5 separate regions of the Homo sapiens genome follow, and all the other regions are linked to region 5. The links are contacts of gene promoters, found by promoter capture Hi-C in blood cells and fetal thymus (Javierre and others, 2016). All regions are on one chromosome and are shown on one strand. The core of a region is centred on a gene start or on the middle of the fragment in contact, and the rest is flanking DNA. Distances in the headings are between cores, read along the strand shown. Region 1 overlaps BPTF (bromodomain PHD finger transcription factor). Region 2 overlaps BPTF (bromodomain PHD finger transcription factor). Region 3 overlaps BPTF (bromodomain PHD finger transcription factor). Region 4 overlaps BPTF (bromodomain PHD finger transcription factor). Region 5 holds the start of WIPI1 (WD repeat domain, phosphoinositide interacting 1).

Region 1 (5,833 bases), core at 1,605-4,104, 560 kb after region 5:
CTGAAAAATTAGGAAAACAAAGCAGACTGTTATAATCCTACAAACCAGACAACCCCAACTGACAAAACTTAGTTGTAGTTGTACAATTCCTTAACAAGAAAAGATAAAGAGTACAAAAAGGCAAAAACAAGAAATACTATATCCTTTCCATAAGAAATAATTATGATTTATTTCTAAAACATTTCATGTATATATGGTATATACCAACATTTATGTATCTCTTTACATAGTCCATTACATATTCACACATATGTACTTTTTAGTGCACACACAACCACAGTTTTTAATCAATGGATAATTACACTAGAAGATCTTTCCTTATCAAAATATACAGATTTTTTTAAGGAATTAAAAAATATTCCATTGCATGGATATGCCATAATTTATTAAACCAGGTCACTGTTAAAGAATACTTTGTTTCCAGAGTTTTTTCCTTCCAAAAAACGAAGACCAAAGAATACAAAAACATTTATTTTATCAACCAGTATTTCTGATTCTCACAAGCACTGCGGATTTTAAAGCACTCACAGATCTACTAACAGAAATCAGGTTTCTTACATCCGCAGAGAAAGGGGCCCATGGGGCCCCATCTTTCGAGAAAGAGAGGAAGGATGAGGAAGGTCGGCCCATATTGACCTAAATCATGAGACACAGGCATCGGCCACAACTCCTTCTCAGGCAGGAAAGGAAATCACTGCACCTACCAGTAAAGACTGTGGTGAGGCTCTACATTTAGGGGATTAGACTAGATTTTTATGAATCAGAATATTTCTCAGAGAGACACGAAGCAAAACCTACAAAGAAAGGAGCTCTTGTCTCTAAGAGCGCTAGTGGCAGAAGAACTGCTTTTATCACACCCTAACCAGATGCAGCCAATTTCTCATGCACAGCTCTGCAGAAAGAATAGAGACCTTTTGTTAACTTGGGGTAGTGATGCCGAAAAGATGTGGGAGGGGATTTCAGTCTTTTTATCTCCTTTCCCCCCACAAAAAACTCCCCATCAATCTCCCGGCTTCTTCTCTCCCTCCCAACTTTTACGACGGCTTTGTGTCCCTGTGATTGTAGGTTCCCAGAATACAGTCTCCCCCAGGCTGACAGCTCATGCCTATTAACTGCACTCAACTGGTGTAGCAAACATTCTCCATAGGCTCTTCGTAGTCTCTCATAAGCTGATGGGAGGAGGGGAAAGGGAGCAGATCCTCACTGGGAGCTAATGTACTCAAATTCCATCCCTCTGCCAACACGCTTGGAACTAAGGAGAAGGACTAGCTCTGTAGGCACAATACGGTGGATAACCTGACAGTCTCAGGCTACAGGAGTAAGGCGGGGTGACTATGCCAGGAGGACTGTGTAGGATTTCTCATGGAGATTTTGAGGGCTTGGCTTCTATACACCTCTGAAAGGCCAGGTCCAGCATGGCAACTGGGCCATTTTCACTGAGAGAGGCCAGGAATGGAGCACTGTCTGAAGGACTTCAGCGCAGTGACACCCTAGGAGCTCAAAGCTGGGCAGGGTGCTCAGTTGTGTTCTTGGTGTCCATGAGGCAAAGAGGTCCCTTTTATCACCAAATACAAAGGCTTCTCTTTGTGGAGGAAGCAAGGCCAGTTAGGCAGTCTTATGGCTAATCTCTGATGCTACCTATCCCAGAGTAGCATGCTGGTGGGTGTGCCAGTGGCAGATTTTCTTTCTACTTCTTGGCCAACGAAGTCCAACCAAGAGAATGAACTCAACTTCAACTCCACTGGTGCTCAGGGTTTTGTGGTGTTTTGCTATCACAGCCATAGCTGTAACAAACAATATTTTATGTCTTTCTTGGTAAACCTGGGGAGTACCCCCCTATATCCTCCAGTGGTGGGATGGCTGGGTCCAAAAGTTCTTGCACTGAAAATGCTGACGGATATAGGGTCAAACTACTCTTCAGAACAGTGCAATCATAAAGCCACCCTGCGTTCCTACACCTTCACTCATGCTGAGTTAGTATTGAACTTCTAAACTGTTAGTCAAACTCAGAGGTAAAAAATACTATCCCATTGTTTTTAATTATGAGAGAAGTAATCATTTTTTATGTCTACTGGCCTTTCATATTTATTTTTCTGCAAAATGCCTATTCAAATCCTTTGTCTTGTTTGTATTAGACTATTAGTAGTTTTCATTTATAAAAGGTCTTTGTCAATCAAGAAAATTTTCCATTTGTGGTAAAAATATTTTTCCTCGGTTTGTCATCTGTCTTTTGACTTTGATTACAATAACATTTTTCCACTCAGAATTTTAAATATATGTATCCACTTTTTTCCTCTATGGCATCTGGATTTTTTATCTGTTTAAAAAGAAAGTATCACAACAAAAACATAAATTAATTCATGCTTTCTTATTGACGTTTTCTTTTGTTTTTAGGGTTCTGGGTTTTTTTTTTTTTAACAATTCTTCATCAATCTAAATGTTTTTTGCTAAGGCAGAGATCTAAGTGATATCTTCCCAAACATGCTTTCCCTTTGTGATGTGCAATGCTACTACAGCTAAATTCCCATGCTTAGGTCTATTTTTGGATTCTGTATTTTATCTACTGATTTGCTTCTTCTGTAGAACAAATTATTGAAGCTTCAAAATGTGCTTTAATATCTAGTACCTTTTTCACTAACATCTATTTTTTCCCCTTTTGGCTATTCTTACACAATAACTTTTTTTTCTTTTCTTTTTTTTTAAAGACAGGTTGTCACTCTGTTGCCCAGGATGCAGTACAGTGGCGCAATCATAGCTCACTGCAGCCTCAAACTCCTGGGCTCAAGCAATCCTCCTCCAACTTCTAGGCTCAGTCTCCCAAGCAGCTGGCATTACAGGCAAGCAAGACCATGCCTGGCCAATTTTAATTTTTTTGTAGAGACAGAGTCTTGCTATGTTGCCCAGGATGGTCTCAAACTTCTCACTTCAGGTGATCCTCCCTCCTCAACCTCTCAAAGTGTTGGGATTACAGGCGTGAGCTACTGTGTGCAGTATTCTTGCACATTAACTTTTCTAGATCAAATATTAGTATCGTTTTGGTCAAACCTCCCCTGCTCCAGGATGGAAAATCTTATTCCCAAAGTATCCTTCATGTCTTTAGTTAAGCTTTAAAGATTGCTTAGCTTTTTAATTAATTAATTAATTATTATTTTTGGTAGAGACAGGGTCTCCCTATGTTGCCCAGGCTGGTCTTGAACTCCTGGGCTCAAGCAATCCTCCCGCTTCACCTCCCAAAGTGCTGGGATTACAGGCATGTGCCACCACACCTGGCCTAAAGATTGCTTTACACAGGCCTTGAATATTTCTTGTTACATTTGGCTGAACGCGGTGGCTAACGCCTGTAATCCCAGCACTTTGGGAAGCCATTGAGGGTGGATCACTTGAGCACAGGAGTTCGAGACCAGCCTGGCCAACACGACAAAACCCCATCTCTACTAAAAATACGAAAATTAGCCGGGCATTGTGGTACTTGTCTGTAATCCCAGCTACTCAGCAGGCTGAGGCAGGAGAATTGCTTGAAACCAGGAGGTGGAGGTTGCAGTGAGCCGAGATGGCGCCACTGCCCTCTAGCCTGGGCGACACAGCAAGACTCTGTCTCAAAACACACAGACACACACATGCGCACACACACAATTATTCCTAGGTGCTGGAGGTTTTTGTTGTTGTTGTTCCTGGAATCTTCTGCTTCATTAAAATTTTCAAAAATATGTAAAATGCAACCAGGTTAAGAAACAGAACTTTATCTACAACCAATACATCAGATGCTTGTGTGTCCAACTCCCTGGCAATCAATACTTTTGTGCTAAACATTCCCTTGTTTTTCCTTATACTTTTAGAACCTATGTGTGTGCATCCCAAACTGTATAAGTTTGCCTTTTGAAAACTCAGCATAGGCCGGGCGCGGTGGCTCATGCTTGTAATCCCAGCACTTTGGGAAGCCGAGGTGGGCAGATCATGAGGTTGGGAGTCGGAGACCAGCCTGGCCAACACAGTGAAACCCCATCTCTACTAAAAATACAAAAATTAGCTGGTCGTGGTGGCACACGCCTATAATACCAGCTATTCAGGAGGCTGAGGCAGGAGAATCACTCGAACCCGGGAGGTGGAGGTTGCAGTGAGCTGAGATTGCACCACTGCACTCCAGCCTGAGCGACAAACAAGATTCTGTCTCAAAAAAAAAAAAAAAAGAAAAAAAACTCAGCATCAAGTATAAAACTACCTGCATAGAGCAGTATTGTTACTATCAAAGAAGGTTCCCAGGAAAATATAAACTTGTCTCTGGGTCACAGTCTGGCTTCAGCTTTCAGGAAAGTTTACAGACCTCTTTTGGTGAAATCAGTGGGTGAGATCATGAGCAAACCCTGGAAGATACAGGGCTCACCACAATCAAGGTATCTGGCGTGACTGCAGCATAAAACAGGTCTACTACAGCCAAGCATCCAAAGCGGCTGGCTCTGTACTTCCTGCTTTTGGATCTTTTGAGGACTGTTTTCCCCCACTGACTTGGGATTTGGCCTTTGTGGGTAGGCTGCCATTTGTCTACCTGCATTATTGCTTCAGCAATTTTATAGGTGGTGTATTTTCTGTTGTTCCTCTTGTCCCTGTGGGTCTGTAATTTTACAAAAGTTTGGCCACAGTTTTGGTGGAGTTCAGCGTGGAACAAAATTGTATGTGTTAATTAATTAGATCAACTGCATATAATAATTGTGTCTATATCTTGACAATATTTATAAGTTTTATTTCTCTTGGCAAACTGCATTTCCTGGTACTTTTAGAAATTTTTTTTTTTTTTTTTTTTTGAGACAGGGTATCACTCTGTTGCCCATGCTGGAGTGCAGTGGTGCAATTATGGCTCACTGCAGCCTCCAGCTCCTGGCCTCAAGTGATTCTCCTGACGTGGTTGCCCAAAGTGCTGGGATTACAGGTGGGAGAGCCACCTCACCTGGCCAATAGTGGGTATCTTTTTTGTTCCACCTGAATGTTATTGGGAATGCTTCAAGGGTTTCACCAAAAGGCATAATAATTTGGTTTGCAATACATCTTCAAAAAAAAAAAAAAAGACTTCATATACTCGTATTTATCTAAGAGTTTAAAAAAAGAATGAATAAATAGGCCAAGTGCAGCGGCTCACACCTGTAATCCCAGCACTTTGGGAGGTCAAGGTGGGAGGATAACTTGAGGTCAGAGATTCAAGATCAGTCTGAGTAACATAGGGAGACCCCATCTCTACGAAAAAATTAAAAATGTAAAAAAATTAAAAATAAAAAAACCCAATAAATTATAATGAACTTAGATAAAATACCTTCTTGGCATCTAATGAGATGATCAAAAGGTTTCCTTTCTTCAACTTTTTTCTTTTTAAGACAGCATCTTGCTCTGTTGCTCAGGATGGAGTGCACTGGTGCGATCTCAGCTCATTGCAACCTCTGCCTCCCAGGTTCAAGTGGTTCTCCTGCCTCAGCCTCCTAGTAGCTGGGACTAAAGGCATGCAACACCATGCCTGGCTAATTTTTAGTAGAGATGGGGTTTCACCACATTGGCCATGCTGGTCTTAAACTCCTGGGCTCAAGTGATCCACTCGCCTTGGCCTTCCAAAGTGCTGGGATTACAAGTGTCAGCCACTGCATCCAGCCTTTCTTTGACTTCTTAAAATAGTATGGTATTAGTAATCTCCTAGTATTGGAGATTGGTGTCTAAGGTGAAGCCAATTCAGCCATGGTTTCTTATTCTTTAAATTTACTCCTGAATATATCTGCATACCAATATTTTCAGATTTCTTATAGATACACCTATTTGCTATTAATTATTAATAAATATTAATAAAGAAGACAGG
Region 2 (5,386 bases), core at 1,676-4,175, 520 kb after region 5:
GCATACACAGCTTTGACTTTACCAGACCATGTCCAGGAAGTTTCCAAAATGGCTGAACCGACTGATAGGCCCACCAGCTGTGCATGAGAATTCTTTCTGCTCTATGTCTTTGCTAACTCTTGGTTTTGTTGGACATTTAAATTTGTACCAATCTCTTAAGCATATGGTTTTAATATGTACTTCTCTCATTATTAATAAAGTTCAGCAGTTTTTTGGAATTTGGGACATTTAGATTTCTTCTTTCCTCATAATGTTGGTTTGTCCTTTTTTTTTTGTTTTTCTTTTTTTTGAGACGGAGTCTGTTGCCTAGGTTGGAGTGCAGTGGTATATCTTGGCTCGCTGCAACCTCTGCTTCTTGGGTTCAAGCAATTCTCCTGCCTCAGCCTCCCAAGCAGCTGGGATTACAGGCGTACACCACCACGCCTGACTAATTTTTGTATTTTTAGTAGAAACGGGGTTTCCCCATGTTGGCCAGGCTGGTCTGAAACTCCTGACCTCAAGTGATCCACCTGGCTTGGCCTCCCAAAACCTTGGCCCCCCAAAGTGCTGGGATTACAGGTGTGAGCCACCGCACCTTGCCTGTTTGTCTTTTTTCCTATTGATCTATCTGGATTTTTTTCTTTCTTGATTTGTAGTAATTCTTTATATATTCTGGATATGTAATAGTCCTTGGTTGGTTCTTTTCTCATTTTCTTCACTCTCTCTGTAGTGAGTTTGATGAACAGAGGTTCTTACTCTTATTTTTAAAGTAGTTGAATTTATAAATCTTTTCATTTATGGTTAGCATTTTCTATCTGTTTAGGAAAGCTATGAAGATATTCTTCTATCTTCTAAAGGTATTATAGTTTTACCTTTCACAGTTAGGACTTTCATCCTCCTGGAATTGAGTTTATGTAGAGTGAGGTAATAATGGTCCAATTTCACAGTTTCCCATGTATATTCAATTGTCCTGGCACCATTTACTGAAAAGTCATCTCTTCCTCAATGATCTGCAATGTCACCTTTGTCATATAACAAGTGTCCACATACATGGGGTTCATGTTCTGCACTCTCTACTGTTCTGTTGGTCTATCTGCCTCTCCTTATGTCTGTACCTCACTATATTAATTAGTGAAGTATTATATACTAAGTTTTTTGGTTTTTTTTAGATGAAGTCTTGCTTTGTCACCCAGGCTGGAATGCAGTGGTGCAATCTCAGCTCACTACAACCTCCGCCTCCCAGGTTCAAGCAATTCTCCTTCCTCAGCCTCCTGAGTAGCTGTGATTACAAGCGCATGCCACCACGCCCAGCTAATTTGTTTGTACTTTTAGCAGAGATGGAATTTCACCATGTTGGTCAGGCTGGTCTCAGACTCCTGACCTCAAGCAATCCACCCGCCCTGGCCTCCCAAAGTGCTGGGATTACAGGCGCAAGCCACCATGCCCAGCCTATACTAAGTTTTGATATCAAGTTATCATATATAGGGCAAATAATCCTGTTCTTCAAAGGTACAGATATTCTTAATACTTTGTACCTCCATATAAACTTTCAGTATCAGCTTGTGAAGTTTCACTAAAAACAAAACCTCTTGGGATTTTGATGGGAGCTGCATTCAATTTATTAATCAATATTAGAAGACTTGCTAACAATATCGAGTCTTGCAAGGAAGCAGCTTAATGTACTCAAATTTTATTTGTCTCATGGAGATTAGCCAACTAATAAAATTTTGGTGTTTAAAAGGGTTATCTGTCTCACTGTTTTAGCTCACTGTCTAAAGATTACTCTAGTAGTTGGGGTTTATTATATCCTGTCTAAGAGGTATTTCTGCTTGACTCCAGGAAGCAACCATTTCTTCAAATCAGCACATTTAAAAACGTATCAAAATAAGTTCATGTTTTTAAACTTACCGCAAGAATAAATAAGATCACCTCTAAAGTTAAAATAAAGCTTATGTTACTTACGTGGCCCTGTGTTAACTGAGTAAGTTGAGCCATGGTGAGCTTCACTTGTCCTTGTTGGGGGCGAGGGGGTTGTGAGGCTGAAGACTGTATATTTGAAGTGGACGTTGCTGAAGTTAAGCTTTTCTGCCCAGGTGTTGAGGAAACCGTGTTAGGGGCGGAGACTGCAGTGGAGACAGGCTGCCCCCTGATGATTTGAGTCATCACTTGCTGAGGAGCACCTACCCAAACAGCAAAACATTATGAATGCTTATACACCCTTGGCATTATTTTGAATTGAAATAATTCAACACCTCACATGAACGTATTCTTTTCCATCTTCAAAAAAACACTGGGATATTCAGAGCCTAAGGATACATTCAGACATATACCCACATCCAAAGGTCCTGCCTGGTTGGCAGTGAGTCTGTTTTCACTGCCAACCGTTATCCAGTCTCTGCTGTCTGTAGGATAATGGAAAAAACCAATTAAAATTCTTCCTATAAATCTAAAACCAAAATGATAATAGGGAAGACAAAAAAGAATGTGTAAAATATGCCATTTATAAGGCTGCCTTTTCTTAGGAATATAATATTAAAAATAAGTGCTAATTTAATAAAAAATTAATTCATATGAATTTTAAACAAAATATAAAGAATCTGGAATATTCTGGGCCAACTGCATTTATAATAAGCTTCTCTTACAGCTATTTGACAGATAGCTTGGGAGAGCCATGAAGGCAAGGACCACTATATCCTCAATACTAGGGCAGAGTGCTCAAATAATGCTTTTCTTTTTTTTGAGACGGAGTCTCGCTCTGTCGCCCAGGCTGGAGTGCGGTGGCGTGATCTTGGCTCACTGCAACCTCTGCCTCCTGGGTTCAAGCGATTCTCCTGCCTGAGCCTCCCGAGTAGCTGGGACTACAGGCATGTCCCACCACACCCGACTAATTTTTTGTATTTGTTTTAATAGAGATGGGGTTTCACCATGTTAGTCAGGATGGTCTTGATCTCCTGACCTCGTGATCCACCCGCCTTGGCCTCCCAAAGTGCTGGGATTACAGGCATGAGCAACCTCACCTGGCCCAAATAATGCTTTCATAGTAATTGTTCAATAAATGTCTATTGAATGAATGAAGTTGAACTGGAATGGCTCTACAGTTTTCCATAAACCTCTTTTTAGTTTAACTTGCTGAAACTAGAATAGGCAAGTGGAATTTTCCCCCATGTAGAACAGTTGCTAAGAATAATTTTTTGGTAGCTAATTTGACACTTACAGACTCATTACTAACTACTGAATAACATCAAATTTCTCAAGCTTTTAATATTTACTCGCTGCCTTTTTTCCATCTGTGGATACACATATATATCTTTGTGTTTCTCTTAATGGCTGAATGATACTTCATATTACTGCACATATGTAAAATGAAACTTATTTTGACATTCAGAATACTTCCCCCACACCTTTTTGTTGTTGTTGTTAAACTAACGCCATGGTAAAATTCCTGCTTATCCATTTTTGGGTGCTTCTGATTATTTCTTTAAAGTAACCCTCCAAAAAATATTACTGGGTTCATAGTAGGAATATAGTACTAAGTTGAAGTTTTGAAAGGTTATTCCAATTCACACTACTGCCAGCTCTGTGTGCCTATTTCACTGAACCCTGCCAAACCTTGATATCACCAGTAAAGTAAAATATTCAGGCAACTGCAAATAGTATCATGTATCACAGTGCTAAATTTCCTCAATTACCACAGGTTGGCATTAAAAACTGTTTTAAGTCATTGTTCTTCATTTGTGAATTCACTCTCCACACACTGCCCATTTCTTTTCCTACTTATTTAATACATATTTTTAGAAACTATTTTTTCCACTTTGCCATCTACGTTTTTATTTCTAAACTTGCAATTTTAAAAAATGCGGCCAGACTAGTCTTTTTAAAAATTTTGGCTTTAATTATTGCTTGTAAAGTTCTCTTGTATTCTCTCATCAGATACATCCTCCCAAGAATGTTCTTAGTCCTGGTATATGTTGTAACACGGAAGTCTATTTTCCCCCCAAACTATAAGCCAATTATTCCAGTATCATTTACTGATGCAAAATGACACCACTGTCATGCAGCCAATTCCCACATATAATGCCTCTGTAACTATTTGTGTTGCTTCCTTTGGTATCATGCTAATTTTGGTGGCTTTATAATAGCTTTAACAACTGGTAGTACAAGTTTTCCATTATTACTCTTTCTTCTAAATTTTTCTTGGTTACTCTCATTCATTTACTCAAGATGAACTGAAAGACAGCATAACATAGTGTGGCCAAGGTCTTTAATTTGAGAACTCCTATATCCCAGTGCTATGTCCTTGCATTGCAGTTTGAGAAACAATACATGAAAAGTTATCACTTCCAGAGATCACCTGGTACAGATACATTGCCATCATAAGCAGAGACAGATAAAAGGATTGGTACTGATTCATTTTTATAAGCCACCCAGATGATCTCCAATAGGTATATATCAATTTATTTTTAGATCAAAATGGAAATTCAAAAATGTAATAATTTCTGACTGTACTCCGAGGGTCTGTGAAGTCTCGCTCTATTGCCCAGGCTGAGGGGCGGTCTCAGCTCACTGCAACTTCTGCCTCCTGGGTTCAAGCGATTCTCCTGCCTCAGCCTCCCAAATAGCTGGGATTACAGGCTGCGCCACCATGCCCGGCTATTTTTTGTATTTTAATAGAGATGGGGTTTTGCCATGTTGGCCAGGCTGGTCTTGAACTCCTGACCACAGGTGATCCGCCCGCCTTGGCCTCCCTAAGGGCTGGGATTACAGGCATGAGCCACTGTACCCGGCCGGATCTCATCTTAGGAAAAGCTAGTGTGGCGTAGGAAGAGGGATAAGTTCCAGTGTGATCTGTGCACACCTGAAGACACAACCCATACCCACCCACCCTCCACCTCTCTGACCATAACTCCTTTGACTCCCACTTCTTGTCCTCCTTGGGTCCCCCTGAGATCCACTGGCTACCCATCCCTTCAATGTCACCAGGTCCACTCCTGCCTCAGGGCCCTTGCATTTGCTGTTTCTTTTTCATAAAAGACTCTTTCCTCAGATATCTGCACAGCTCCACAGCTCTCTCATTTCCTTCAGGTCTTTATCCAAATTTCATCTTGTTAGTGAGTCCTTCTCAGGCCATCCTTCCTAAAATTTCAACCCTCCCTGCAAATCATTCCCAAATCCCAACTCTAAACATTATCGTTCCTCCCCTCAGTTTTTCTAAGTACTTTTCTTTCTTTTTTTTTTTTGACAAAGTCCGATTCTCCTGCCTCAGCCTCCCGAGTAGCTGGGATTACAGGCACCAACCATGATGCCCAGCTAATTTTTTGTATTTTTAGTAGAGATGGGGTTTCACCATGTTGGCCAGGCTGGTCTTGAACTCCTGACCTCAGGCGATCCACCCGCCTCAGCCTCCCAA
Region 3 (5,821 bases), core at 2,440-4,939, 600 kb after region 5:
TCTCATCCCTCTTCTTTACTTCTGGACAATCGAAGCCCAAACTGGAGAGAAGAGGAGCTTCCTCTCCTGCCTAAAACTCTCCTAAGGTTCCATTCACTTTTAATGGAGTTAAAGACTTCAACAGAGATGGTCACTAACTTAAAACAAACAGGCAAATTAATGTCTAGGACTAGACATAGAGGAACACATATAATGGTATTTCTGTCCCCACTCAAAAGGAATTCAAGAGTATGTGTGAGGCACTCGATGAGAGTGAGCCTGATTTTCCTGTTTACTCAATGGCAAACTGAGGGAACTGAAAGAACTGGGCTTTAGGAGAGATCTGGCTTTAAATACACTCATTTGCTTGTAAGATATGTGGACATGGACAAGACACAGCCTCTCTGAGTCTCTAAGCCATTCTATTTACCTCACTTGTAAAATGAAGATATAATAAAACCTGCCTGCAGGCCACTATAAGACTTAAAGGTATAATGATAAGGCATCTACCACAGTGCCTGGGCACACCAGTGATCAATAAATGTTAAATATTATTACTAAGGTAATAAATGAATAAAAATTTAGCAGCATTCCAGGAATAAGTCATTCAGTAATTCTGAAGAAAGAAGGCCTATATTAAATCACAGATAAATAAAAGGATATGGGTGGAGTTCCCTTAATCCGAAAATCTGAAATCCAAAATGCTCCAAGATCCAAAAGTTTTTGAGTGCCAACATGCCGTTCAAAGGAAATGCTCATTGGAGCGTTTCAGATTTTCAGATTAGGAATGATCAACTGGCTGGGCACAGTGGCTCATACCTGTAATCCCAGCACTTTGGGAGGCTGAGGCGGGCGGATCACAAGGTCAGGAGATCGAGACCATCCCGGTTAACACGGTGAAACCCGGTCTCTACTAAAAATACAAAAAAAATTAGCCGGGCATGGTGGCAGGCGCCTGTCGTCTCAGCTACCCGGGAGCCTGAGGCAGGAGAATGGTGTGAACCCAGGAGGTGGAGCCTAGAGTGAGCCGAGTTCGCGCCAGTTCACTCTAGCCTGGGTGACAGAGCGAGACTCTGTCTCAAAAATAAACAAAAAAATAAATAAATAAGGAATGATCAACTGGTAAGTATAATGCAAATATTCCAAAGCCCATAATACTTCTGATCCACAGCATTTTAGATAAGGGATACTCAACCTATACCGTATTCACTGACCTAACATTTTTCTTCTTGAAGCCACAGAAAGAAAAATTCATTAAAGCATAAAGCAGCAAAACAGTGAATACCTGCTAATCCATTCAAAGAAAAGTTGGGGGTTTTTTTGGTCTGTTTTGTTTTGTTTAACTTTTTTCTTTTCCTTTTTTTTTTTTTTTTTTGTGATGGAGTCTCACTCTGTTGCCCAGGCTGGAGTGCAGTGGCGCAATCTTGGCTCACTGCAACCTCTGCCTCCTGGGTTCAAGCACTTCTCATGCCTCAGCCTCTGAAGAAGCTGGGATTTACAGGCACACACCACCACGCCCAGCTAATTTTTGTATTTTTAGTAGAGACAGGGTTTCGCCATGTTGGCCAGGCTAGTCTTGAACGTCTGGCCTCAAGCAATCCGCCCGCCTCAACCTCCCCAAAGTGCTGGGATTACAGGCACGAGCCACCGCACCGGGCTGAAAAGTTGTTTTTTTATACTTAGTTACTTGGCCTATATACAGTTTATATAATCAAAATTATTTGTCCTCATTGTAAAAGTGACAACAGCTTTCCACATAAATATACATTATGTATGTATATTTGGTTTTGGAGTTATAATGTGGTTCTGTAGAAGCTCTGGTTCTTACAAGGCCTACCATGTTCCTCAGGCTCACCCAAACTGGCCAGGCTTCCCTGAAGTTACCACTGGGCACACATTCTCAAGGACTCATAGGGTGGCAAAGAGAAGACAGACTGGCAAGAAAAGGTTTGCTAAAAATATAATTAAGAGCAAACATACATATTATATGTCTACATTTTAAAGCTTCTTTGACTTTTACCTAGGCTAGCTAAGTAGAAGGTTAATGACTCACAGTAAGTTTCAACTTTCGTTTCTAAACAAACCCATAGAAATGAAGAGTAAAGAACACTAGTGAAATGAGTTGAATAATGTCCCCAAAGTTCATGTCCACCTGCAACCTCAGGATGTGATCTTATTTGGAAATAGGGTCTTTGCAGATGTAAAGTTAAGGATCTTGAGATAAAAATCATCCTGGATTTAGGGTGGCCCCTAAGTCAAATGACTGGTATCCTTAGAAAAGGAGAGGACCCAAGGTGACACATAGAAAAGAAGGTAATGGGCCGGGCGTGGTGGCTCACGCCTGTAATTCTAGAACTTTGAGAGGCCAAGGCGGGCAGATCACAAGGTCAGGAGATGGAGACCATCCTGGCCAACATGGTGAAACCCCATCTCTACTAAAAATACAAAAAATTGGCCAGGAATGGTGGCATGTGCCTGTAGTCCCAGCTACTTGGGAGGCTGAGGCAGGAGAATCACTTGAACCTGGGAGGTGGAGGTTGCAGTGAGCCGAGATCGTGCCACTGCACTCCAGCCTGGGCAACAGAGACTCCGTGTCTCAAAAAAATGAAAAGAAAAAGAAAAGAAGGTAGCATAGAGGCAGCAACTGGAGTGATGTGTCTGTTTGTAAACCAAGAAATGCTAAGGACTGCCAGAAGCTAGGAGACAGGCATGGAACAGATTCTCTTTGAAAGTCTCCAGAAAAACCAACCCTGCTGACCCATGATTTCAGACTTCTGGCCTCCAGGACTGTGAGACAATAAATTCATATTTTTTCAAGCCACCCCATTTGTGGTACTTTGTTATGGTGGCCCTGGAAAACTCCCAACTTTTGGTACGGGAAGTGGGGTGCTGCTGCTAACATACTCAAAAATGTGAAAGTGGTTTTGGAACTGGGTAATGGGAAGAGGCTGAAGAACTGTTAGGTGCTTGATAGAAAAAACCTAAGCTGCCTTGAAAAGATAGTGACAGGGAGATTGGAATTATGCTGCCAGCAAGCCAAGGACACTTGGGGTGCTAGAAGCTAGAAAAGGCCAAAAAAAAAAAAAAAAGCAAGGATTTTTTTCCTAGAGCCTGCAGAGGGAGCATGGCCCTGCTGACACCTTTGAGTTTAGACTTCTATTCTCCAAAACTGTTAAATAATCAATTTCTACTGTTTTAAACTACCCAGTTTTATAGTACTTTTTTTTGGTATAGTACTTTGTTATAGCAGCTGCAGGAAACTGATAAAACTAGCAATTCAGCAATTAAAGACAAAAGCTAGGTCCTAAGCTCTTGGTCAAGCAGCCCAAGTAGTGCTTAGGAGCACACATTCTGGAGCCAGAATGCCTAGGTTCAAATCCCGATCCCACCACTTTGTAGTTGTGTGATCTTGGATAAATTACTTAAAACTCTCTATGCCTCAGTCTCTCCATCTGAAAAATAGGGTGACGGTACATATCCTGGAAGATGCTGTTGTTAGAATTAAATTAATTAAAATATATAAAGTGTTTAGAGTAGTACCAGCACTTCATGGGTATCATATACATAGTTGTCATCATTTTCCTCACCTTATGAAGTGTATAATATTTACCTTAAAACAAGTAACTAGGCCGGGCACGATGGCTCACGCCTGTAATCCCAGCACTTTCGGAGTCCGAGGCAGGTGGATTACCTGAGGTCGGGAGTCCAAAACCAGACTGGCCAACATGGTGAAACCCCATCTCTACTAAAAATACAAAAATTAGCCGGGTGTGGTGGCAGGCACCTGTAATCCCAGCTACTTGGGAGGCTGAGGCAGAAGAATCACTTGAACCTGGGAGGCGGAGGTTGCAGTGAAGCAAGGTTGTGCCACTGCACTCCAGCCTGGGCGACAGAGTGAGACTTGTATCAAAAAACAAAACAAAACAAAAAAACTATTGGTAGGATGGGTGTTTTAAAAAGTAGTATTTCACGATGCAAGAGAAAAAGGGGTTCAGGGAAAGAAAGGGGTGCAGGCAAAGAAATCCCTAGGAAGTAGCATAAATAGGCTGAGACCTCAAGAATGAGCTAGTTAGCCAACAGGTTTTTAGGTGCTTTGGTTTGCTTTTTATTTATGTTGTCTTAAGTGTTAGAAAGCAAGATAATTAAATGTACAAAGTTAGGGATCTGTGCTAAAGAATCTGAAGTTTTGGTTAAGGGCAAATGGAAGTAATTGTAATTAAAAGGTTTTTCAACTTAGGGGAAAAGGAGACTTGATCAAAATTGCTGTTTTAAAAATCATCCAGCTATGGCTGGGCATGGTGGCTCACATCTGTAATCCCAGCACATTTGGAGGCTGAGGTGGGCTGATCACCTGAGGTCAGGAGTTCAATATCAGCCTGGCCAACATGGTGAAACCCTGTCTCTACTAAAAATACAAAATTAGCCAGGTGTGGTGGCGGCCGCCCGTAATCCCACCCACTCGGGAGTCGCTTGAATCCAAGAGGCAGGGGGTTGCAGTGAGCTGAGACTGGGCCACTGCAGTCCAGCCTGAGTGAGACTCCATCTCAAAAAAAAAAAAAAAAGAAAAAATCTTGGAAGGTTGGGGTAGGGGGTTACACTACTTTAGGGGTGACTGACTAGTCTAATGAAGATGACACTGGCTTGTATCACGGAGGGACAGTGGGAATGGAGAGAAACTGATTCAATATTTATTTTAAAGGCATAGCAAACAATAAAGGAAAAAGTTTATTCTCATATTTCTAGCTTGAGCAGCTGGTGGGACAGTAATTCCATTTACTAAGATGAGAACGCTGGATGAAGAGTAGGTAATGGGGGGAAACGATGAGTTTGGTTTTAAACACGTTTGAGGTGCCTGCCTTGCGGACAGGTCCAGGAGTCTGCTGGACATACAGAACTGAACGTGGACAGAAGGAATTCAGGCACGGGAAGTCAGTAAGTTAATATGTGGTTTGTACCTAGAATGGGGAGTAGAAAGCTGTATAGATTTAAAAGCATAGTTTAGTTGATTCGGAAAATGAATACAGATTTTTAAAATGCTGTTTAAAGGCGTGTGGTGGTCCACGCCTGTTGTAATCCTAGCGCTTTGGGAGGCCAAGGCTGGAGGATCACTTGAGCCCAGGAGTTCGAGACCAGCCTGGCAACATAGTGAGACTCTGTCTCTGCAAAAAAATGAAATATAATGCTGTGTTCACGTAATTATATTTAGAATGGAGAGTGACAGAAAAACATGCTAATCTAATCTGGTAATTTCTATTTTAGTAGGTCCTAATTTCAGAGCAAAGGATTGACAGGATAAAAGCAATAGTTAAGAAAGATTGGCCCACTTACATAATGAATGAAAACTGGCCTCTGAGTTATATGCTGAATATGTCTTGGCTTCTCAGATGGACTATAAATTCATGTATAAGAAGCTTTTTTTATTATAAGCTTCACTAATCTATACAAATAACATATTTTTAAGCACTTATTAAATAAAAGCAATAACAGAAAACTTAATTTCTATAAATTGGTAACATTACAATTAAAACCTCTGCATACTATAAACTGCGTGAAAATTCTACATGGCTTTAAAACTATCATGAGGAGTCCACATATAATCTACCACAAAAGTACAGTTAAACTGAAATTATTTTAATCTCATTTTCATAAAAGATGTAAAATCTTTCAGATTTGTCAAAATTGTTGACACATATCACTATGTTTAAAGTTTCCTACTTGATTTTACATAGAAAAATACTCAAAATATCACAGCATGGAAAAAGATAATCCTATTTGCCTGAAATCATCTTTAAAATCTGTGCAGTTTATTATGCATCAAAAAAGGCAATTTGAATGACGACCA
Region 4 (5,465 bases), core at 717-3,216, 540 kb after region 5:
GCTCCGCCTCCCAGGTTCACGCCATTCTCCTGCCTCAGCCTCCCGAGTAGCTGGGACTACAGGAGCCCACCACCACGCCCAGGTAATTTTTTGTATTTTTAGTAGAGACGGGGTTTCACCATGTTAGCCAGGATGGTCAGGATCTCCTGACCTCATGATCCACCTGCCTCAGCCTCCCAAAGTGCTGGGATTACAGGCATGAGCGCCCACGCCTGGCCTGTGATTTTAGCTTTTAAACTTAAATTAGAAAATAACTCCCTTCCCCCTTACCTGTCCGTGTAGTCCCTCCTCCTGGAGGAGCCTTGGCCGCCATATCATCCCATCTCAAACTTGCCCACAGTAACCGTAACATCAGGCTCACTCCAGCTAAGGACTTTACTGTCTGAAGTCTATACCTGAAAGGAAAACCAAAGAAATCCATATATATCTATATGTATATACATACACATACACATTCATATTCACTCTACTAAACTGAAGGGCTGTGTTTCTTGTCCTCATTAGGACTCCAGTATTTATAATATGGTTTTGTAAGACTTTGGTATTATATGTCCTTTAAAAGAAAAACTTCTTCATTCATAGGCATAACACGCACCTAACATTTTTTTTTAAAAGGGGCTATATTCATTTTAAATGCCATATAAGTTTATAAAATGAGAATGTTTCATTGTAAGGTTGATAAGGCAAAAATTCATGAAGACTTTATAAAGTTAACCTAATTCCAAAATATCTGTTAGGAAAATTTTGGGGACCAAATATAGAGAAATAGATAATTGTTATTAAATGTGATAAAGGAGTTTTGAAGGAAAAATCCTAACTTTTGCAAAAACAAGAAACCTGAAAATGTTTAAATTTTCTAAAAGAATAAAATGAGGTCAGATGCGGTGGCTCACGCCTGTAATCCCAGCACTGTGGGAGGCCGAGGTGGGCAGATCACCTGAGGTCAGGAGTTCGACACCAGCCTGACCAATATGGCAAAACCCCATCTCTATTAAAAATACAAAACTTAGGGCCGGGCATGGTGGCTCATGCCTGTAATCCCAGCACTTTGGGAGGCCGAGGTGGGCAGATCACAAGGTCAGGAGATTGAGACCACGGTGAAACCCCATCTCTACTAAAAATACAAAAAATTAGCCAGGCGCGGTGGTGGGTGCCTGTAGTCCCAGCTACTCGGGAGCCTGAGGCAGAAGAACGGCGTGAACCTGGGAGGTGTAGCTTTCAGTGAGCCAAGATCCGGCCACTGCATTCCAGCCTAGGCGACAGAGCGAGACTCTGTCTCAAAAACAAAACAAAACAAAAAATACAAAACTTAGTTGGGCATGGTGGTGCATGCCTGTAATCCGAGCTACTTGGGAGGCTAAGGCAGGAGAATCAATTGAACCCAGGAGGCAGAGGCTGCAGTGAGCCAAGATCATGCCATTGCACTCTAGCCTGGGCGACAAGAGTGAAACTCTGTCTCTAAATTAATTAATTAATTAATTAATTAATTAAATTAAACCAAAAACATCTTACAAATCTAGTAAGACCTTTCCAAACGGACAAAAACATTCTGCATCCAAATGGTGGTTATTCAAAACATGAACAACTGGATGATGAATAAAGTTAATACTAATAAAACTTTAACAGCATTAGTGTAGTTTTCAAATTCTACAATGAATAGTAAAATATTAGAAAAAGGACAATATCAGCTGGGCGCAGTGGCTCACACCTGTAATCCCAGCACTTTGGGAGGCCAAGGTGGGGGGATCACGAGGTCAGGAGTTTGAGACCAGCCTGGCCAACATAGTGAAACCCCATCTCTACTAAAACTAAGCTGGGTATGGTGGCGGGCGCCTGTAATCCCAGCTAGTTGGGAGGCTGAGAAAGAAGAATAGCTCGAACCCAGAGGGCAGAGGTTGCAGTGAGCCGAGATCGCTCCACTGCACTCCACCTCGGGCGGCAGTGTGAGACTCTATCTCAAAAAAAAAAAAAAAAAAAGGACAATACCATATTAGTTACTTATCAACAGACAAATCTCTCTGTGTTCATGTTTGTTTCTAAACATTGTGTGTGGAGGTACTAAACGTTTTACACATTCTTAAAAAATACTAAAAACGTATTTCAAAATAAATTTACTTAACTGCATTAAATATCATGTCCTAAAATGGAATTCACTATATATCTTTGTGTAACTGAATACTTTGTTGACATTTTCACTCTACTTAAATGAACTTAGTGGTTGATTATGGTGTAGACAAAGGCTATAAAATAAAAATAATTTCCTCTTCTAACAGAGGTGGAAGGTAAATCTCAAACAACTCTGTATGTAAAAGGCAATGCTTTCTTTTTTTTTTTTTTTTTTTTGAGACAGAGTATTGCTCTGTCACCCAGGCTGGAGTGCAGTGGAGCAATCTTGGCTCACTGAAACCTTCGCCTCCCAGGTTCAAGCAATTCTTCTGCCTCAGCCTCCCGAGTAGCCGGGATTACAGGCGCCCGCCCAAACATCCAGCTAATTTTTGTATATTATTATTATTTTTTTGAGACGGAGTTTTGCTCTTGTCGCTCAGGCTGGAGTGCAATGGCGCGATCTCGGCTCACTGCAACCTCCGCCTCCCGGGTTCAAGTGATTCTCCTGCCTCAGTCTCCTGAGTAGCTGGGATTACAGGCGCCCGCCACCACGCCGGGCTCATTTTTGTATATTTAGTAAAGACGGGGTTTCACCACTTTGGCCAGGCTGGTCTCGAACTCCTGACCTCAGGTGATCCACCTGCCTCGGCCTCCCAAAGTGCTGGGAGGCGTGAGCCCACCTGAAAGACAATGCTTTCTATTGACAGCATTCAGTTGGAAAAATGAACACTGTGAAAGAGAAAGCTCTAGCCAAAAAGTTGCTGCAGCTTCTTAACTTCCCATATCCACTTGTGACACCATTACTTTCTCCACTGTGTTATCGCACTATGAATCCTCTGACCTGGACAGAGCAGGTCAAGGGGAAATCAGAGGGGAAATGTTAACTAGTGCAGGGATGTCCCAAGAGGGGGAAAGTGTCTGTCACTTTCAGACCATACCCCATAGTAATTCCTAGAGATCTTTAGTGTCACAGGAGAAAGCAAATAAATATTTATTTGCAAGGAAAAGTTTGTCCTCATTCTCTGTGGTCAAACAATGACTTTAAAGTATCCTTATTTTAAAATGGAAATAACACCAGGGAGGAACACACCACATGCACGGTAAGTCTGCTCATTCAAGCATTCATTCAAAAAATACTTGAGCATCTTCTATGTGTTAGACTATGTGAAAGGAGCTGGGGACACAGAGGTAAACTAGAATCTGTCTGTGTTCTCAAGGAGCTGTAAGAGAGGAAAGGACAAGGGAGGGACATCTGAGTTGGCTCGGGAATGAGGATCAGAGCTTTGCTGGAGTCTCAAAGGACAAGTTAAGAGTATGGGGGTTGCTGATCAAAGGCAAGGGGCACACATATGCTAAACAGAACAGTGTGCAGGAGTACACATTTCTTCCCAGAAACCACATCCAGTGTTTTATGACTGGAGGGAAGGGGTGTAGAGGTACAGAAAGAGATGAAGGTGGCATGAGAGAAAAAGGCAGAAGCCAGAATGCGCTGTACCAAAATAAAAGATTAAAGAAGAGCATTAAAGGGTATGTATATTAAGTCCTCTGAGATTTATCCAGTACTGGATGGGTTGTAAAGGGAAGTACTTTCCATGAATGTGATCTACAGGTGACAAATGCTTTCCCCGCTCCTTGCTGCAGTAGTTACCAAGTCCCTTAGCTCAGTCAGACTATTCACAGGATAGAGGGGCATTTTAGGAGAATCTTTCTGGCAGCACTGTGGAGGACAACTATCAGTTCAATGTGAAAATGAAGCACAGAATCAGGGCCTGGGAGGATGGGCATAAGGGAATGGATGGTGTGGAGGGAAAAAGAGGCCCTATTGAGTGTATGAGACAAGTTTTCCAATATTGCTCAGCCTTAACATTAATAACAAAGATCATACATGCATCTTTGGCATTCTTAACTCCTAACCATCAGATGTATTCTATTCTAGTGTTAGTATAAAAATGCATTTCACGTGCATGGCTTTTTATAGCAATATGCTTTTAAAAAATGCATTCTAAAGTCATGATCAATTTACATATTTACCCATGCCTCCATTAGACAGAAAGGATTATGCTTCTCTCAAATATGTTTTGGCAAATTAAGACGTTAGCATACATTTGAAGGCTGTATCAGTTTAAAATGAATGTTTAATGGAAGGTATTTCCTCCCATTAAAAAATGTGAAATCAAGTAATATAAACTGTACCATAGTGCATACTAAGACATGAAATTCAGCTCCAGAAATTCAGCTGTGCAGAACAGGGCCCCGAGCAACACTTGATTGGGACCAGTGCCTAACTCTCCTGGAGAGTTCAGAGAAGAGTGCTTCCCAGTTGAGCCTACCCTCCATTTTAGAATACAAAGAGCAGAAAGGTCGGCCTCCACAACTGCCAGGTCACTTTAATTAAAGTATTTGTACATAGTAACTTTTCCAGTGGGAAAGAAGTTACCTGCAGGACAGTCAAGGATACATTTTGGGACCGCTCTCAATGAAGAAAGCAGAAAAGTGCAGAGTAATCCTATAAATCCATGAATTGTAATGAAGAGTTCCTTGATTCCCTGCAGGATTCTGCAAATCCTTCATTGCAGGCCCTGCAGAGAAATTGTACTTTTCAGCTGTCTCTATTGAATGTGTAATGGAGTGATGATATTTTATTTCAAATCAAAAGATGAGTTATAAAAAACTTGGTCAAACAAACTATGACTGGTTGTATTAATAAATGAATTCCTTTATAGAGAGTACTTACTTTTTTTTCTAGCTGATTGTAATTAATATAAAGGAAACCAAAAAAGTGTGATTTTTAAAGAAATTGGAAAAATATTAAAAGACACACAAAAACGAAGCCTAAGGGGAAATGAAAACGGCTCAGTAACTCGCTGAAATAATTTGAGGGTCCTAGCAAAATCTAACTGCAACTATGACTGATTCTGATTTCTAAAGATGTTCCCAGAACTCTCATGTTTTCAGTGTTTATGTTCCATCCTTCTCAATTACAGGGGTGAAAAGATAAAGACAAGGACATGAAAAAGGAGAAAGCAAGGACACATAAGTGAAATGTGATACAGCAAATAAAGTACTAGACTGGGATTTAGGAAAACCGGGCACTATTCCTGTGTCTCTGTAGCCACAGGCAAATTACTGTACATTTACAAAAGATAAGAATTTCTAAGGTGCCTTCCCAACATAAAACTACATGATTTTACAACTACCAACACTATCTATTTAGGACGCATCCCCTAAACCTAAAGTGCCCAGAAAATTTTAAATTAGGACTATTTCTGGGTTTAAAAAAATTTCTAAGGAATCTTAGAGACTACCTATTCATACATAAATAACAGAGAACTCCAAAACAAATGTTTATCATGCAACTA
Region 5 (5,346 bases), core at 962-3,461:
TGAAATTTACAATGTGGAGTTCACATTTGGGGCTCATTTTATCTACTGGACAGCAATGCCTGAAAACAACTCTATGATTTGGTCTAATTTTCTGGCCTTGTTTTCATCACTTTAGCCTAGTCTCTCCTGTCCCTTTACTTCCAGAATTTCACATTAGTCCCCTAAAGACTTCTAGATCTTTTCCCACTTCTAATTTGTTCTGCACACCCTGGCCAAGTTTATCTGACAAAGACACTGCTTTTTTATCATGAAACACTCCTGCTCAAAAACTAACACCAGCTCCCAGGTCTATCCCATAAAGTCCAAACTCTTAATAACAAACTGATAATAACAGCTTACACTTTAAAAACTTTATGGTACACTTCATGTAATTCTCCAAACAACGTAGCACCTAGCATGCCAGATTCTAGGTTTTCTAACCAGGACAGAAATGACTGCAGCATTTGACAGAGCTGGAAGGTGGGGGGAAGCACCTTTGATCTGAAAGGTTACAAAAATGGCACAAAGTATCTAAACAGCAGTTCCATTCACTTCTGATAGTTTATACAACACCTCACAATCAGCCAAAGAGCAATAACATCTGTGAATCTATGAGCTGAACTATTTTTTACATCAGTGGAGAGAAAAAAATAATAAAGTTGAGAAAAGAAACTGTTACATTTGCATCTCAGAAAACACAAACCGGAAATCCAACCAGAAAGGTTTAGGTGAAATAGTGCCCTTTGTTCATCTATTGTAGGTCCAAGGTTAAATATATATATATATACACATACATAAAAGTAGCTTTGTCATAAACTGGGTATTAAAAGTGGGAAATGGGGAAAACCGCAATTACTTTTGCACCAACCTAATAAATTTGAATTATGCTGATTTGAGAGACTGTCATATAACAATAACTAAAATATCATCTCAAAATTTGAAAAAATGAATTAAAAATCCATCAGCAGTTATACAATCCAAAGCTGGCAGAGCTCCTGCTTCATAAACCGTATTGACAGTAATTCCGCATGGGAACATGTACAGTACTCAGCTTTTAAAAAGAGATTCTTTGTTAAGGTTTATCTCGAATTACGTGAGTTTTGAATTGTGCTATATCTTCAAGACGTTACCCCTTTCATAAACTACACTGCCCTACACACACTTTCATTTTTTTCAGCTGCGGATCGGATAGGTCTTGTTTAGATACTTTGTGCCATTTTTGTAACTTTTCAGATCAAAGGTGCTTCCCCCCACCTTCCAGCTCCGTCAAATGCTGCAGTCATTTCTGTCCTGGTTAGAAAACCTAGAATCTCGCATGCTAGGTGCTACGTTGTTTTTGCAAATTACTGTTTAGCAGTTATTTAGTGCACAGGTCTTGAAAGCAGACATGCAGACATTCTACCATTTACTGTTACTTTAGACAAATTGTTTAGCTTTGGAGCTTCAGTTGCCTCTTCTGTATATTGAGCACAATCGTATTTTCCACACAAGTTTTATAAGAATTCAAGATGACATACATAGTACGGCGCGCTTGGCAAGTAGTGAGGGTTCTCAACCGCTCGGCAATGGATAAGATAACTTGCTATCTCTCTGGCTGAGGCAGCCCCATTTCAGGAGCTTCTCTCAATGCGGCTTGAGGACTCGACAAAAGGGTGGGGCTTTGGAGTCTAACGCTCTCTGCTAAACTCTGTAAGTTTAATAGGCAGAGTTACACATGGCAAGGGGTCTGGGCGGGGTGGGAACTAGCGCGTCCTCCTGTCACCCTTGCGGCGGCCCCGACGCAGTTGCCGGACTGAAACCAGCAGATCTGGCCCCAGCCGCATTCCTTCTTCCCTCTCCCTCCCAGCTGGGCGGCTCCGGCAATGAAAACACCGCCACGTGGGCCTGCTGCCTTTGCGTCACGCGCCTTTGTCCAATGGAGAGCCGCGTTACGAAGCCAGGGGCGGGTCGCCAGCCGGGCGGGTCCGCCCACAGCTGCCACGGATTGGCCAAGGGGGGCGGTGCCCGCCAGCCGTGGCTTGGGCTCGTGGCCAATGGTGGCCGGAGGCAGGGGCCCCGCCCTATCAGGTGCTCTGGTCCTCGGGACCAGCTGGAGGGGCGAGAAGGGGCGGGGCGAAGCCGGGGACGCGGCGGGGACGGGGCGGGGTAGGGGCGGGGTGGGGACGGGGCGGGGTAGGGGCGGGGTGGGGACGGGGCGGGGTAGGGGCGGGGCAGGACCGGCGACCCGGCCCGTGGAGCCGGCGCGGGCGGGCTGCTGAGGTGGCTGTCGCCGGCTCCGAGCTGCGGCTTCCCGGGCCGAGCCCCCGATGGAGGCCGAGGCCGCGGACGCTCCCCCGGGCGGGGTTGAGTCGGCGCTCAGCTGCTTCTCTTTCAACCAGGACTGCACGTAAGCTGCGACTCGGCCCCTGCCAGGGAGGTGGGGGACAGAGTGTCAGGACCCAGGGGTGTCGTCCTGAGAGCAGCTTGTGGCTTCCGCCTCGAGGCGGCCTCGGCGGGAGGGCCGGTGTCTGCTTCGGACGCATTGGGATCTTGTTATCCCCGTACCCCTTCAGTGGGGTTTGCCGCACCCCCCACCCCACCCCACTCCCAGTGTCCTCCCAGAGCGACAAGGTTGGGCCAAGGGTGAAAGCAGGGAGTTCGCAAAGGGAGTGGTGGGGCTGCGGGGGCCACGGAATATGGGGGGAGCAGGGCGGTGGGAAAGCCAGTGACCAAAGTGGGTGTCTGGGGAAGAGAGACAGTGGCCAAAAGAAAGAGATGAGAAAGGAGAGGAAGTTGCAAGTTGACCCAGGACTCTGTAGTTGGGGCCCAGGAAGATGAGAGTACAGGAAAAACTTTCCCATTTGTCCTTGAGCATCTCAACGTGGCATCTGGGCAGGGCCTCGGACAAAGAGGCAGCCTATCCCTGCGGCCAGGCCAGCCCCTGTCCCATCCCCGACGCAGGGCATCGTGCCTGCCCGCTCTGGATGGAAGAAACCTTTGGATTTCTTTGGCTGTTTTCACATCGCCCACCCAGCCAGGCAGGATCTCCTTCTCGGAGTCCAAGACTCTTTTCCCGGGCGCAGACTGCTTTCTCTCCAGGAAACAGGAGCTCCACCCTGTTGTTTTTGAGTGGATTTTTAATGTTTTACTTCGATGTTCACATTTGGGCTTTGAGAGGGAGCTGGGCTGAAGTGTGTTTCAGGCATCTGCAGGATTCTGTGACTTACAGGCAAACGCCTGTTTCTTTCCCTATTTTCATGGAAGCGAGCCCTGGGGACCATATGGAATCATCTTTTTGGAATGTGCACCCTGAGCATCAGGCGGGGATGACCGATTCCCAGTTTCCCACTTCCTGCTGTACCAGTTTCTGTGCCTTGGCTGCTGGTGACTGAGCTACGCTAATATTGATCCTTCAGTGGTGTAATTAAGGCCATTATGTACCATTAGCCACCCTGGCTTCCATTCCCTTTATGTTTCTGTTTAAAAACACCCGGTGCTGAACAATATGCCTTTGTTTGAAAAACCCATATGTGTAATCATGTAATCGAGTAGCTCTACAGCTTGGTTATTTGAGTGACTTTCAAGTTTTTCTTGACCACAATCCACAATACGAAATATGTATTGCAACATCACCCAATACCCATAACACATACACTATTCACAAAATATCATGTGCAATTTTCTGTGTCCTTTTTTTCTAAGCTGCTTGTGACTCACTGAATTGCGTTTTAGGATCCACTCATGAGTTGAGACCTGCAGTTTATAAAAATGCTGGTATAGATAAAATCCTGATGTTCTGTAAGAAACATTTTGCAAGAGGGCATGGCTGTTGAAATGCCTGGGTGATGTTTTCCTTCCCAATTGAACACAAGTTAAGAAAGGGGGTTAGTTTGCTTGTAAGTAGTAAATGTTCTAAATTCTGCTTTGTAACATCATTAGATTTGACAAAAAAGGGTGTTAATTTATACTCTAGCCATTAAATAACGCAAAGTCCCAGCTTTCTACAGAAATTGAATAAGAATGTTATTTTCAAAACGGTAGGGTGCTTTGAAAGTTAATTTCCTTACTCCCTACTGTTAGTTTTATTTTCTTGGATGGAAGCTCTGCTGGGCAGCTTTGCCTTGCCTATAAATAAAAGTTCTTGTCACAGTCAGTTGCTTTGAGCCACAGAGGGTATGACATTGGATTTTAAAATAAGTCAAGCCCCTTACTGAATACATTTAGGTGTATTGCCATGTCTTTTTCTATAAATGTAGGCTGAATTTGGGATCCAGTATTTCCAAAGAAGGTAGGTGAAAACAGCAAACCCTTACCAGTCCCCTACGCTCATACTTCGTGATTGGTACTTGTGCTATACACTTTGGGTACTTTTTTTTTTTTTTTTTTTGAGACAGTCTTGCTCTGTCACCCAGGCTGGAGTGCAGTGGTGTGGTCTTGGCTCAGTGCAGCCTCTGCCTCCCAGGGTTCAAGCGATTCTCCTGTCTCAGCCTCTCAAGTAGCTAGGATTACAAACGTGTACCACCACACTCAGCTAATTTTTTGTATTTTTAGTAGAGACGGGGTTTTGCCACATTGCCCAGCTTGGTCTTGAACTCCTGACCTCAAGTGATCCACCCACCTCAGCCTCCCAAAATGCTGGGATTACAGATGTGACACACTATGCCCAGCCTACTTTGGGTACATTTTAAATTTGATTAATGATAAATATTTGTCCCAAGCTCTGTTTCCATGAGTGGTGATTAGAATTTTGTTTCTACAGAAAGACTTTATGGATGAAATAAGGTCTAAGTCTAAATTCCTTGATTCAGAGTCTTTTGTGGCCATTGATCAATCACGTAAAACATCACATAAAACATCACTCTGTGATTTTCTCATATGTAGAATTCTTCTGGTCCAGGAGCAGGGCTTATGTTTGAAAATTACTTTAAATTGCTGTCACTTTGCATTAATGTTATAAGACTCTAGTTACAGTATTTCTTTCCTTACTTGCAAACTTTACAAACCTCATTTCGCAGCCAAACACATCTATATTTATGTGAAAAAGTTTATGTGAAGAAAGTTTAAAAACAATAACACTACAAAATACATTTTGAAGTTTTAAGATGCTCTGGGCTTACTTTTCCAGTTGCTGTTTGTCATCATGAATACCTCAGTCTAGGTACTAAATGCCAGTTCTAAGTGCACAGCTGCAAATGTCTAACCCACCAGTTTAGCTACTTAGCAGGTTGGAGGGCTGCGAGACGTCACCAGCTACCTTGTGGATTAAAAGTTTACTGTAGTTGCCCTATCCCTGTGTCCCAGGGAAGAACAAATGTCTGGGTAGGGAAAAAAAATTCCAGGGAAAATCATGTGACCTTCTCTTTTTTAGGCTAGTGAAACAAGAGCCTT

The links. Contacts are between HindIII fragments. The CHiCAGO score rates a contact against its expected background, and 5 or more counts as called.
Region 1: a fragment that was not itself captured here is called in contact with the fragment with the promoter of WIPI1 in region 5 in 3 of 17 cell types (naive CD8 T cells, total B cells and non-activated CD4 T cells); the score reaches 6.5 in naive CD8 T cells.
Region 2: a contact is called between a fragment that was not itself captured here and the fragment with the promoter of WIPI1 in region 5, in 9 of 17 cell types (naive CD4 T cells, activated CD4 T cells, total B cells and 6 more). The highest score is 12.1, in naive CD4 T cells.
Region 3: a contact is called between a fragment that was not itself captured here and the fragment with the promoter of WIPI1 in region 5, in 1 of 17 cell types (total B cells). The highest score is 6.6, in total B cells.
Region 4: a contact is called between a fragment that was not itself captured here and the fragment with the promoter of WIPI1 in region 5, in 7 of 17 cell types (non-activated CD4 T cells, naive CD4 T cells, total B cells and 4 more). The highest score is 6.5, in non-activated CD4 T cells.

Annotation. Positions count from the first base shown.
Region 1 is chr17:67,897,888-67,903,720 of GRCh38, reverse strand. All of the region lies in intron 7 of BPTF (bromodomain PHD finger transcription factor), which reads right to left. Among named protein-coding and RNA genes, the nearest start is that of BPTF, 75 kb to the right of the region's middle. The HindIII fragment of the contact is 507 bases long and covers 2,601-3,107 here.
Region 2 is chr17:67,937,212-67,942,597 of GRCh38, reverse strand. It overlaps BPTF (bromodomain PHD finger transcription factor), which reads right to left. Exons shown (of 28, transcript NM_182641.4): 19 at 1,942-2,159. Among named protein-coding and RNA genes, the nearest start is that of C17orf58, 57 kb to the left of the region's middle. The HindIII fragment of the contact is 623 bases long and covers 2,614-3,236 here.
Region 3 is chr17:67,860,061-67,865,881 of GRCh38, reverse strand. All of the region lies in intron 2 of BPTF (bromodomain PHD finger transcription factor), which reads right to left. Among named protein-coding and RNA genes, the nearest start is that of BPTF, 37 kb to the right of the region's middle. The HindIII fragment of the contact is 3,407 bases long and covers 1,986-5,392 here.
Region 4 is chr17:67,913,644-67,919,108 of GRCh38, reverse strand. BPTF (bromodomain PHD finger transcription factor) reads right to left here. Exons shown (of 28, transcript NM_182641.4): 12 at 271-395. Among named protein-coding and RNA genes, the nearest start is that of C17orf58, 80 kb to the left of the region's middle. The HindIII fragment of the contact is 7,070 bases long and covers 1-5,465 here.
Region 5 is chr17:68,454,361-68,459,706 of GRCh38, reverse strand. WIPI1 (WD repeat domain, phosphoinositide interacting 1) reads left to right here and starts at 2,211. Exons shown (of 13, transcript NM_017983.7): 1 at 2,211-2,365. The coding sequence starts at 2,286. It also overlaps a transcript of PRKAR1A not described here. RefSeq lists silencers at 1,769-2,055, 1,792-2,471. The HindIII fragment of the contact is 11,803 bases long and covers 1-5,346 here.